Regions from separate parts of the Homo sapiens genome. Here all the other regions are linked to region 1. The links are contacts of gene promoters, found by promoter capture Hi-C in blood cells and fetal thymus (Javierre and others, 2016). All regions are on one chromosome and are shown on one strand. The core of a region is centred on a gene start or on the middle of the fragment in contact, and the rest is flanking DNA. Distances in the headings are between cores, read along the strand shown. Region 1 holds the start of RAB11FIP4 (RAB11 family interacting protein 4). Region 2 has its middle 99 kb from the start of COPRS. Region 3 has its middle 40 kb from the start of MIR4733.

Region 1 (3,155 bases), core at 455-2,954:
GGAGCGCGACTATCCCCATGCCAGGAGTCTGCTCAGCCTGCCCCAGATGGGAGCCACTGGAAAAACGGAAGGGCTTGGCTGGCCTTTGGGGAAGAAGGGTCATGGTGGCAGCAGGCAGTGTCCCTCAGCAAAGCCCCGCAGAGGGCAGTCTGGGCTCTCACAGGCACTGCAGTGGTCTTTCCTGTGGTGGGTACCTGAGTTCTCAAGCCCTGAAGCTGCCTCACTCTCTTCTGCCCACAGCTCTCAGCGACTCACAAGTCCCGGCCCATGCCCAGGTGCGGGTGGAGAGATGATTCTCAATCGCCTCCCACTCTCTGGTGACGCAGAGGCACGGGCCCAACCTGGCCATCACCCAGCTTCTCCCATGTTCTGAAATGCCTGGTCCGACCTGTTCTGGGAACACAATGCCAGCCAGTGCCCATTTGAGGCCCATGGCCCCAGGCCCCCCATGCAGGGCCTGAGGCCTTAGATGGCCTTGGAAACCCACTTCTCAGGGCTTTTGGCTCCAGGGGAAACCCCTGACCATTTCAGCCAGGTGGGTGTCTTGTCCTCCCCTTGAGACACAGTCCCCAGTCCCCATGCCGGTGGCACCAGAGGACACTGGTGTAGTGTGCGTTTAGTGATATGACTCCGTCCACCCTACTGGCGGCACCGACCCTCCGCTTCCAGCCCTGTTAACAATCTACGTAAGTCCTGCTTTCCCCAAATAGATGCGGCCCCGCCACATGAAAGCCCTCTGCTCAGCCACCACTCCCCGAGCCTGGCTTTGCCTGGCCTGCTGCAACCAACACAGCCAGCTGCCAGCCTGGCTGCCCAGCAGAGCCTGAATGAGAGGTCACCCGACACTGGCCCGGGAGTACACGGTGGCCCCAGCAGACACCTCCTTCCGTGTCTGGGCAGGGTGTGTGCAGCCGAGGAGCCAAGGCTGCAGAGCACCCCTACCGGTCCCTTTCACCCCCTGGCCCGGCCCAGCAGGACGTACACAGACCCTTGCATCTTGGTCTCCGCAGCGCCGGGTGGGGTGGGGAGCCTAGGGCCGGATTCTGGCAGCTCTCTCCCCCAGACAAGGGTGGATGTGCAGACCGCTCAGAAGGACCTGCATGGCCGAGGAAGGAAGGTGGGCGCAGAAGCCACCCTAGGCGTGACGCGTGACGCTCGGGGCACGGGCGCCGGGGGGCGGAAAGCGAGGGCCCGGCTGGGCCAGGGATACCCGGGGGGGGCCGAGGTCCTGGGCTCCGGCGGAGGGAGGGGATTGGGAGGGAGGCCACCGCCTCGGGCCACGCGGGTGACCCGGCGGGGGAGCTGGGGGAGGGGCGGCGGGGCTGGGCTGGGGTCCCCGGGCCGGGACTGGGGTCGGGCCAGCTTACCTCCTCGCCCTGGCCGAAGCGCAGTCCGAGCGCCGCGACGCGCTCCACGCGCAGGAAGCCGTCGGGGTCGCGGCCGCACACCTCGAACACCTCGCGCAGGCGGCGCACGGAGCGCAGCAGAGCCGCGGGGGCGCCCGACCAGCCCGCGCCGCCCGCCATCCGGGCCGGCCCGCAGCTCAGCCCGGACCCCTCGCCCGCCGCGCCCGCCGCCTGCCCGCCGCCGCCATCGCCGCGCGCCCTCCGGGGCCGCCCGTCTGGGTCTGCGCCGCGCAGCCTCCGCCCGGTGGCGGCCGCGGCCGATCCGTGTCAGCAGCGGCGCCGCAGCCCCAGCCGCTCCGGAGGGGAAGGGAGGGGAGGGGAGGGAAGGAGAAGAGTGGGGAGGGGAAGGAGGAGGGGCAATAGGGGGCGGGGAGGGGAGGGGCGGGGGCCGCGGCGAAAATGGGAGGGAGAGGGGGAGGCGGCGGGGGCGGCGGCGGCGGGGACGCTGCAGACAAAAGGAGCCCGCGTCCTCCCGAGTGGGGCGGCCCACGCGGGGCCGGCAGGCGCAGCGAGCTGCCAACGGCCGCGTCCTCCGCGACCTCAGTTTCCCTCCGCGTCCCCAGTTTCCCTCCGCGTCCCCGAGCCCACCCCTTCCTCTGGACACCCGGAGCCACCCAAAGGCCCTGCCCTGCCGGAGGATTCCGCGGGGTCGCGCCCCTTTCCGCTATCCGTGCCCGCTGCCGCGCCTGGCGTCTCCCGAGCGCTCAGGATGTCCTGGGGGCCTCCTGCATTGGCGCGTTCCGTGACTGCATTCATCCCGGAGGAAGCTGAGGCCCAGAGAGGTCGGACTCACTCTAGGCCACACAGCTGGCAAGAGGCAGGGCCGGGATTCGCTGCCATCTCTGGAGGGCTCTGGACTCCGTTCTTCACCTCCGCCCTGCGGTCTCCCGGCGCTCTCCTGCAAGACAGCACTTGTGGGGCCATCGGGCGGGGGAGGGCACAGAGAGGAGGAGCAGGCAACTGAACCCCAGCCTGGACCCGGGACCCTGCGACGGGGAGATGAGGAGAAAACCAGGATGAGGCCGGAGGGAGGAAAAGCGAGGCGCTTCCAGAGGCCTGCCTGTTCAGGGCCCAAGGCTGCTCCACGCCTGGAAGAGGCTTCCTCCCTTTCGCCGGGTTCCCACCATCACACCTCCCTGGCAGCCCGCATGCCCCAAGCTCAGAGAATCCAGGACAGAATCTCTGTCCCGCTGGCCGCAGGCTCTAGGTCAGGACCCTGGCCTCCTCCCATTAGTGCTCAGCGGAGCCTCCACCCCAGCTTGTGCTAACTTCCCAGCCCAGCCTCGGGGCCCTGCAGGACCCGGCCGGGCTCTTCTCTCCACCTTCTTGCTCGGCACATCAGGTCTTTGTGGCAACGACTGGCCCCAACCCAAAAAAAGGCCTTGGCTGAGTCTACTCCCACCTATGCTGTCATGCTCAGCACAGAGGTTTCCTCCTCCGGGAAGGCTTCTCTGATGGCACGCCATCTTATCTTCTATTCTGAGTTCTAAGCCCTTCTTCCAGGTGCCCAGTTAATTCTTAATTCTCTAGTGGGATGCCCATTTCCCCTACCATGCTGGGAAGCCCTCCAGGGCAAGATATGTCTTAATTACCTTCAAGTCCCTGATCTCCAGGCAAGAGTGGGCCCAGAGGAAGCCCCACCCAGAGGGGATGGGCCCGCCCATTATGTGAGGAGCCGGGAGCAACGTAGTGGCGCAGACAGGGAGTACGGGGTGAACTGCATGGCCTCCCCTAGCTGGGCCTCGGTTT
Region 2 (3,155 bases), core at 436-2,935, 370 kb before region 1:
GTAACATGGCAACATATTGACAAATCATTACTGATACAGACTTTTCAGTCTGCTAGATATTATGAATTGTAAGTGTAATGAAGCTGCATTTCATTGACAACAGCTGCATTTCATTAATGTCGTGTGACCCATGGGCAAATGAATCCACTGGTCATACGATGTCTCTCTTTTTTTTTTCCCCAAGACAGAGTCTTGCTCTGTCACCCAGGCTGGAGTGCAGTGGCATGATCTCAGCTCACTGCAACCTCTGCTTCCTGAGTTCAAGCAATGCTCCTGCCTCAGCTTCCTGAGTAGCTGGAATTACAAGCACCCGCCACCGTGCCTGGCTACTTTTTGTATTTTTAGTAGAGACAGGGTTTCACCGTGTTGGCCAGGTTTGTCTCAAACTCCTGACCTCGTGATCCGCCTGCCTCACCTCCCAAAGTGCTGGGATTACAGGAGTGAGCCACTGCGCCCAGCTGATGTCTGTTAAAGTAAGCTTGTGATACTTGAACCAGGGAACTGTGGCAATCAGGAAACTGTTGACCATGGACAACCAGTGAATATTTATCTAAGTACAGGCTAGAATCTGTACTTAAGTAAGTGGGTGATTAGTTGAAGGAATACAAATTGTAACCAAGTAAGAATGTTTTCTCAGAGCTCACAGTATAATTAGAATCAGAGTCAGATGAAAAAAGAAGGCATGGAATAGCCTCATTCATATAGGAAGTTATCCTAATTGCCAGTACTGATGTGGCAAGTTCTGACCAAGAGATTATGAATGATATCAATCAATAACTTGTAATGCTGACTTATAAAGGACATTGACGCTGGGCTCCGTGGCTCCCATCTGTAATCCCAGCTACTTGGGAGGCTGAGGCGAGGAATGAGTGCAGAGTGGGGCCTTGTGTGCAACCCTAGATCTTGCTCCTGGGAGCCCCTGGAGTGGTACTTTTAAAGAAAAAAGATGGGGTCTCACTTTAGCTGGGTGTGGTGCCTCACACCTATAGTCCCAGCTCCTCAAGAGGCTGAGGTAGAAGGATCACTTGAGCCCAGAAGTCCAAGACTTCAGTGAACTATGGTTGTGCACTGTACTCCAGCCAGGGTGACAAAGCAAGACTTCATCTCTTACAAAAAGAAAAAAAAAAAAAAAGAGGACATTGATGAGAATAAAAGTTCTGTGTGTTTATGCTGGCTCTCTAAAACATAAGAGATAAAATCCAAATGAACAAATACAATTAATTTTTAACAGATATAGCAGCTTGGAAGTTTAAAGAAATTCTAGTAAGAATTTAAAGAAACTCTTGTGAAAACTGGAAAACAAAAACATGTAAATAAAATATCTTGAGAAAATGAACATATAGTATTTACCAAATTTAATGCCTAAAAATTCAAAATCCTGAAATAGGATATAAGGGATATGTTTGTCAATAGTAAAAGACTGATGAATGCTAGTAAAATGTAAAAATATTCCATAAAACATCGACAGGAGTTTTTTCATCTTATTCCTTGTGTGAAGACATTTGGGAACCTTTTCCCAAGTATACTCCAGCTCAGCAGGCAGCTAACCCACTGAGGGCTGGTTTGTTTGTGAGGATGGAGACCTCAGACAGCAGGACTATGAAGGATGAACAGGTACATTTTGCAGCTAAATTTCAGAAGACCTGCTCAAGTATGTACGATAAAACCCTGCTTCATTTAATTTTCTGTCCCCTGACTTTTCCAGTGTGGGTTGCTTGGCTGATTATCTTCTCCCTATTTTTTTTTGTTTTATGGTCTCCAATAATCTTGCATTTCTCTTTGTTCTACCAAAATGCTGCCTGAATAAGCTCTGGGTCTTTCGCACAAGTATGGGCTGAACCTGTGCTATGTCTTGCCTATGGGGCCTTTTCTCTGCAGACCTCTTCCGTGTGGTGGTCCCCAGATTGAAGGGTACAGTCTGGCTTGCCACTGCACAAGGTCATCAGAGGGATTTAATCTCATTTTGTGCTCAGCCATCCTGGTGAGGCCAAAGGGGTCATGGGGCTCATTTTGCACCTTGGGTGCATATATGGGTTTTCCCTGGAAAAATGTATTGTTTCATCCACTATCATTGCAAAGTCACGTAAGCCAACATTTGTTGGGCACCAAGCATTCTGCTAAGTGCCCCACATGTGTTATCTTAATTTATTCCTATGAAGTAGGTGCCCTTATTATTCCCACCTTATAGACAGAGAAACTAAGTCTCAGGATGGTTGTTTTCCCAACCACTTAATAAGGTTTACCATTTAATAAGTGGCAGATCTGGGTGTTGAGCCCAGGTCTGTCTGAGTTCCTAACCACTGAGCAGGTGGTCTTTCCTTCTGCACACACACACACACACACACACACACACTCATATGCATTTTTATAATAATGAAAGAATCTCATATATGCTGTTTTGTAGCTCCCTCTTTTCACTAACCCACTACAAGATGGGGCAAGAAGAGCATAATAGATTATTCCCCAGCCTCATCCTGACTGGGCAGAGCTTCCCACATCTGTCTTTTTCCCCCAGTGGAGTCTGGAGCGTGAGTCACAATGGAAAGGTCTAGAAAGCAGCTTCTTTGGTAGAGGCTCCATGGTGACCATAGTACAGAGATGGGGCCCAACTTGGGTACCCACCAGAGATAGAAGAAGGAATTATTACTTCCTGACAGGTGAGTCAATGAGATGGTATTGTAGAGTCAATTTCTTATCACTGAAAGCATTCAGGCAGAAGTTATTAGATTGGTGGTTCTCAATGGGGATATATCATCTCTTTAGTGGTGGTTTTGGAACTAGGGGGATTATTTTTGGTTGTCATAATGATTTTGCAGTCAACTACTTCCATTTAAGAGGGCAAGTCCTGTAGCGTGTGCAATATGGTACAGACCCAGGCAACAAGAAGCTTTCCTGCCTCCTCTGAACTTCTGAATGTCCTGGAAGAAATTCATATAGGAAAAAAACCCCCAATAAAACAAAACAAAACAGACAAACAAAGAAAACACCCCAAAACCTGTTTATAATTTGCTGATCCCAGAAATGAATGCTGTTTTATATATAAAGCAATGTCATGTTTTTGAATTTTTTCAAATATAAACAATTTTTCAAAAGTGCAAATACTGGGAAAAAAGGGAAAGATTATACTTTGCATTGTGTGCAATGTTAACAAGAGC
Region 3 (3,155 bases), core at 462-2,961, 340 kb after region 1:
CAGATCTATTTCCCTTTCTCCATGTAGCATTACCTTGATTTTGCTTTAGAGATTGCCCCTTACTTTTTGCTTGAAGCTTTAGGGGAATTGTCAGGCATGATGTCTTGTTCTCTGTGTGCCATGGTATGGCGGGTAACTCGAACTCTAGCTGGGTGTGTGAATAAGGGCAGAAAGGAGTCAGAGCTGAAACATCCTGATAATGACATCCTGAAGAACCAACCTTTAACTTCTGTGACTTCCTTCCCCAGAGCTACCCTGGTTCTCGTCCCTATTATTACAGCATTTTTTTAAAAAGACTCTTTCTCGCTCTGTATCTTTCCAATAAGTTCCACTCCCTACCCCCCTTAAGTTAGTCAGAGTCAGGCACAACCAAGAACCCTATTTGATATAGGAAATTATTTTAACACAAAGACCCTTGGAGTCAAATCAATTCCAGAAAAGCATTTAATAATTTATTCTACTCTGTCAACACCAAACTATTGCACAGTGAGAAAAGGCTGTGGTGGAATGATGTCTGGAAGCAGCCTCTCCACCTGAGGAGGGGTCTCTGAGCTCTGAGATTGATGACATAGGTTCTAGAAAAATACATAAAATTAAAAATAGAGAGAGATTCTGCCACATACATGCTCTCAGGCACTTTAGGAACCATATAAGCTGTTTCCTGCCCTTTTCTGGGTACCTTAGTAGAGGGCTGGGTGCGGTGGCTCACGCCTATAATCCCAGCACTTTAGGAGGCCGAGGCGGGCAGATCACGAGGTCAGGAGATTGAGACCATCCTGGCTAACACGGTGAAACCCCGTCTCTCCTAAAAATACAAAAAATTAGCTGGGCGTGGTGGCGGATGCCTGTAGTCCCAGCTACTCGGGAGGCTGAGGCAGGAGAATGGCATGAACCCGGGAGGTGGAATGTGCAGTGAGCCAAGATTGTGCCACTGCACTCCAGCCTGGGCGACAGAGTGAGACTCCGTCTCAAAAAAAAAAAAAAAAAAAAGTAGAGAGAGACTCTGCCACATACATGCTGTCAGGCATTTTAGGAGCCATGTAAGCTGTTTCCTGCCCTTTTCCGGGTACCTTTTGAAAGCCAACATTAGGATAGAAGCATAGAGGCTGTGCCACTAGAAAGATTCTGGTGAGAATCGTGGCTGCTTGTTGCACACGTAACCTAGGTAAGTTACCTGATCCCTGAACCTCAGTTTCCTCATCAGCAAAATGAAAGATGATGTCTCATAAAGCTGTGAGAGTGGAAGAGATCACGTTTGCTGAGCACCTGGAGTGTTGTAGGCATTCACCCTGGTTGTGCCTATTTTTCTCAGACCATTCTTTGCTACTGAAACGACTTCTGCAAAGAAGTTGGGGTGGCTTAGATATTGAACTGGCTTGTTTGGCAGGTTATGTTTGGTGCCTATGCATGAGAAACTGATTGGCCATTCATAGGACACTGAGCAGTTTGGAGACTCAGGACCTCCTGCATCCTCTGTGCTTGAATGTTTGCATGGTCAACAGTTCAGAAGTATGCACATCCTGCTGAGAGCTCCATAGCTCTGTAAGAAGGAAGGATTGGGTCTCTACACCAAATGCAAAGCCTGGCCTGGCACGGTGGCTATGCCTGTAATCCCAGCACTTTGGGAGGCCATGACAGCAGGGTCGCTTAAAGCCAGGAGTTACAGACTAGCCTGGGCAACATAGTGAGACCCCCCCCCCATTTCTACAAAAATAAAAATAAAAATTAGCTGAGTGTGGTGGTACATGCCTGTAGTCCCAGTTACTCTGGAGGCTGAGGTGGGAGAATAGCTTGAGCCTGGGAGGCCAAGGTTGCAGTGAGCCGTCATTGCACCACTGCCCTCTAGCCTGGGTGACAGAGCAAGACCCTGTCTCAAAAGCAAAACAAACACAAACAAACAAAAAACAAATGCAAAACCCCAGGAGCTCTCCCAAGACACTATCGGTCAGTTCTGTAAACAATCACTGGAGGTGCAGAGGAGCTGCCCATCTTCAAGGAGTTCTGTAGCCTCTGACATGGCTGTATGGGGTCAGTTCCCTGAATATAGGTTGCTTTTTCATATTTCTGCAAAGTAGGCCCCTTCTGCCTGGATACCCTTCCCATCTATAATGGCTTATTGAGTGCAGGGCCAGCATTGGAATTGTGCAATGTACAACCTGCACGACTGTAAATAGCAGCCTTGGGTAAGAGAATGGGCTACACAGTCAGGAAAAGCTGCATCTATTTCTCATTTCTGCTATTCATTCTTAGTGAAGAGGTGAGCAGGTTGACTTTATTTATTTATTTATTTATTATTAGTATTTTTTTGAGACAGTGTGTCACTCTGTCACCCAGGCTGGAGTGCAGTGATGCGAGCTTGGCTTAGTGCAACCTCTGCCTCCTGGGTTCAAGTGACTCTCCTTCTTCAGCCTCCTGAGTATCTGGGACTACAGGCATGTGCCACCATGCCCAGCTAATTTTTGTATTTTTAGTAGAGATGGGGTTTCACCATTTTGGTCAGGATGGTCTTGAATGCCTGACCTCAAGCGATACACCTGCCTTGGCCTCCCAAAGTGCTGGGATTACAGGCCTGAGTCACGTGCCCAGCCTATTTATTTATTTATTTGAGACAGGGTCTCGCTCTGTCACCCAGACTAGAGTGTAATGGCATGATCACAGCTCACTGCAGCCTCAACCTCCCGGGCTCAAGCCATCCTCCCACCTCAGCCTCCCAAGTAGCTAGGTCCACAAGTGCATGCTACCATATCCAGCTATTTTTTTTTCTTTTTGTAGAGACAGAGGACTCACTATGTTGCCCAAGCTGGCCTCAAACCCCTAAACTCAAGTGATCCTCCTGCCTCGGCTTCCCAAATCCTGGGATTATAGGTGTGAGCAGCCATGCCCCACCAAGGCGACCTTGCTAAATCTCACTTTCTTCATTTGTGAAGTTGGAATAATTACAGTAGTGACCTCTTAGAGTTGTGAGGATTAAAATAAAACAATATATATAGGGAGATTTTAGCACAGTGCTTGGCATGTAGAAGACGCTTTAAAAAAGCTGTAATAATGATTATTCTTTCTGGCAAACTTTTACTCTACTTTAAAGCCTTTTCCAATTCTTTCCAAAGCTGAGTCAAATGCCTCTTCTATGTGCTCCCATTCCCCACTAGCGCTGC

What was found. Contacts are between HindIII fragments. The CHiCAGO score rates a contact against its expected background, and 5 or more counts as called.
Region 2: a contact is called between a fragment that was not itself captured here and the fragment with the promoter of RAB11FIP4 in region 1, in 1 of 17 cell types (M2 macrophages). The highest score is 5.7, in M2 macrophages.
Region 3: a contact is called between a fragment that was not itself captured here and the fragment with the promoter of RAB11FIP4 in region 1, in 1 of 17 cell types (naive CD4 T cells). The highest score is 5.1, in naive CD4 T cells.

Annotation. Positions count from the first base shown.
Region 1 is chr17:31,390,224-31,393,378 of GRCh38, reverse strand. RAB11FIP4 (RAB11 family interacting protein 4) reads right to left here and starts at 1,704. Exons shown (of 15, transcript NM_032932.6): 1 at 1,368-1,704. The coding sequence starts at 1,526. RefSeq lists an enhancer at 1,900-2,489. The HindIII fragment of the contact is 11,828 bases long and covers 1-3,155 here.
Region 2 is chr17:31,758,250-31,761,404 of GRCh38, reverse strand. It overlaps the pseudogene GPR160P2. Among named protein-coding and RNA genes, the nearest start is that of COPRS, 99 kb to the left of the region's middle. The HindIII fragment of the contact is 2,409 bases long and covers 481-2,889 here.
Region 3 is chr17:31,053,277-31,056,431 of GRCh38, reverse strand. It overlaps the pseudogene LOC646030. Among named protein-coding and RNA genes, the nearest start is that of MIR4733, 40 kb to the left of the region's middle. The HindIII fragment of the contact is 3,265 bases long and covers 79-3,155 here.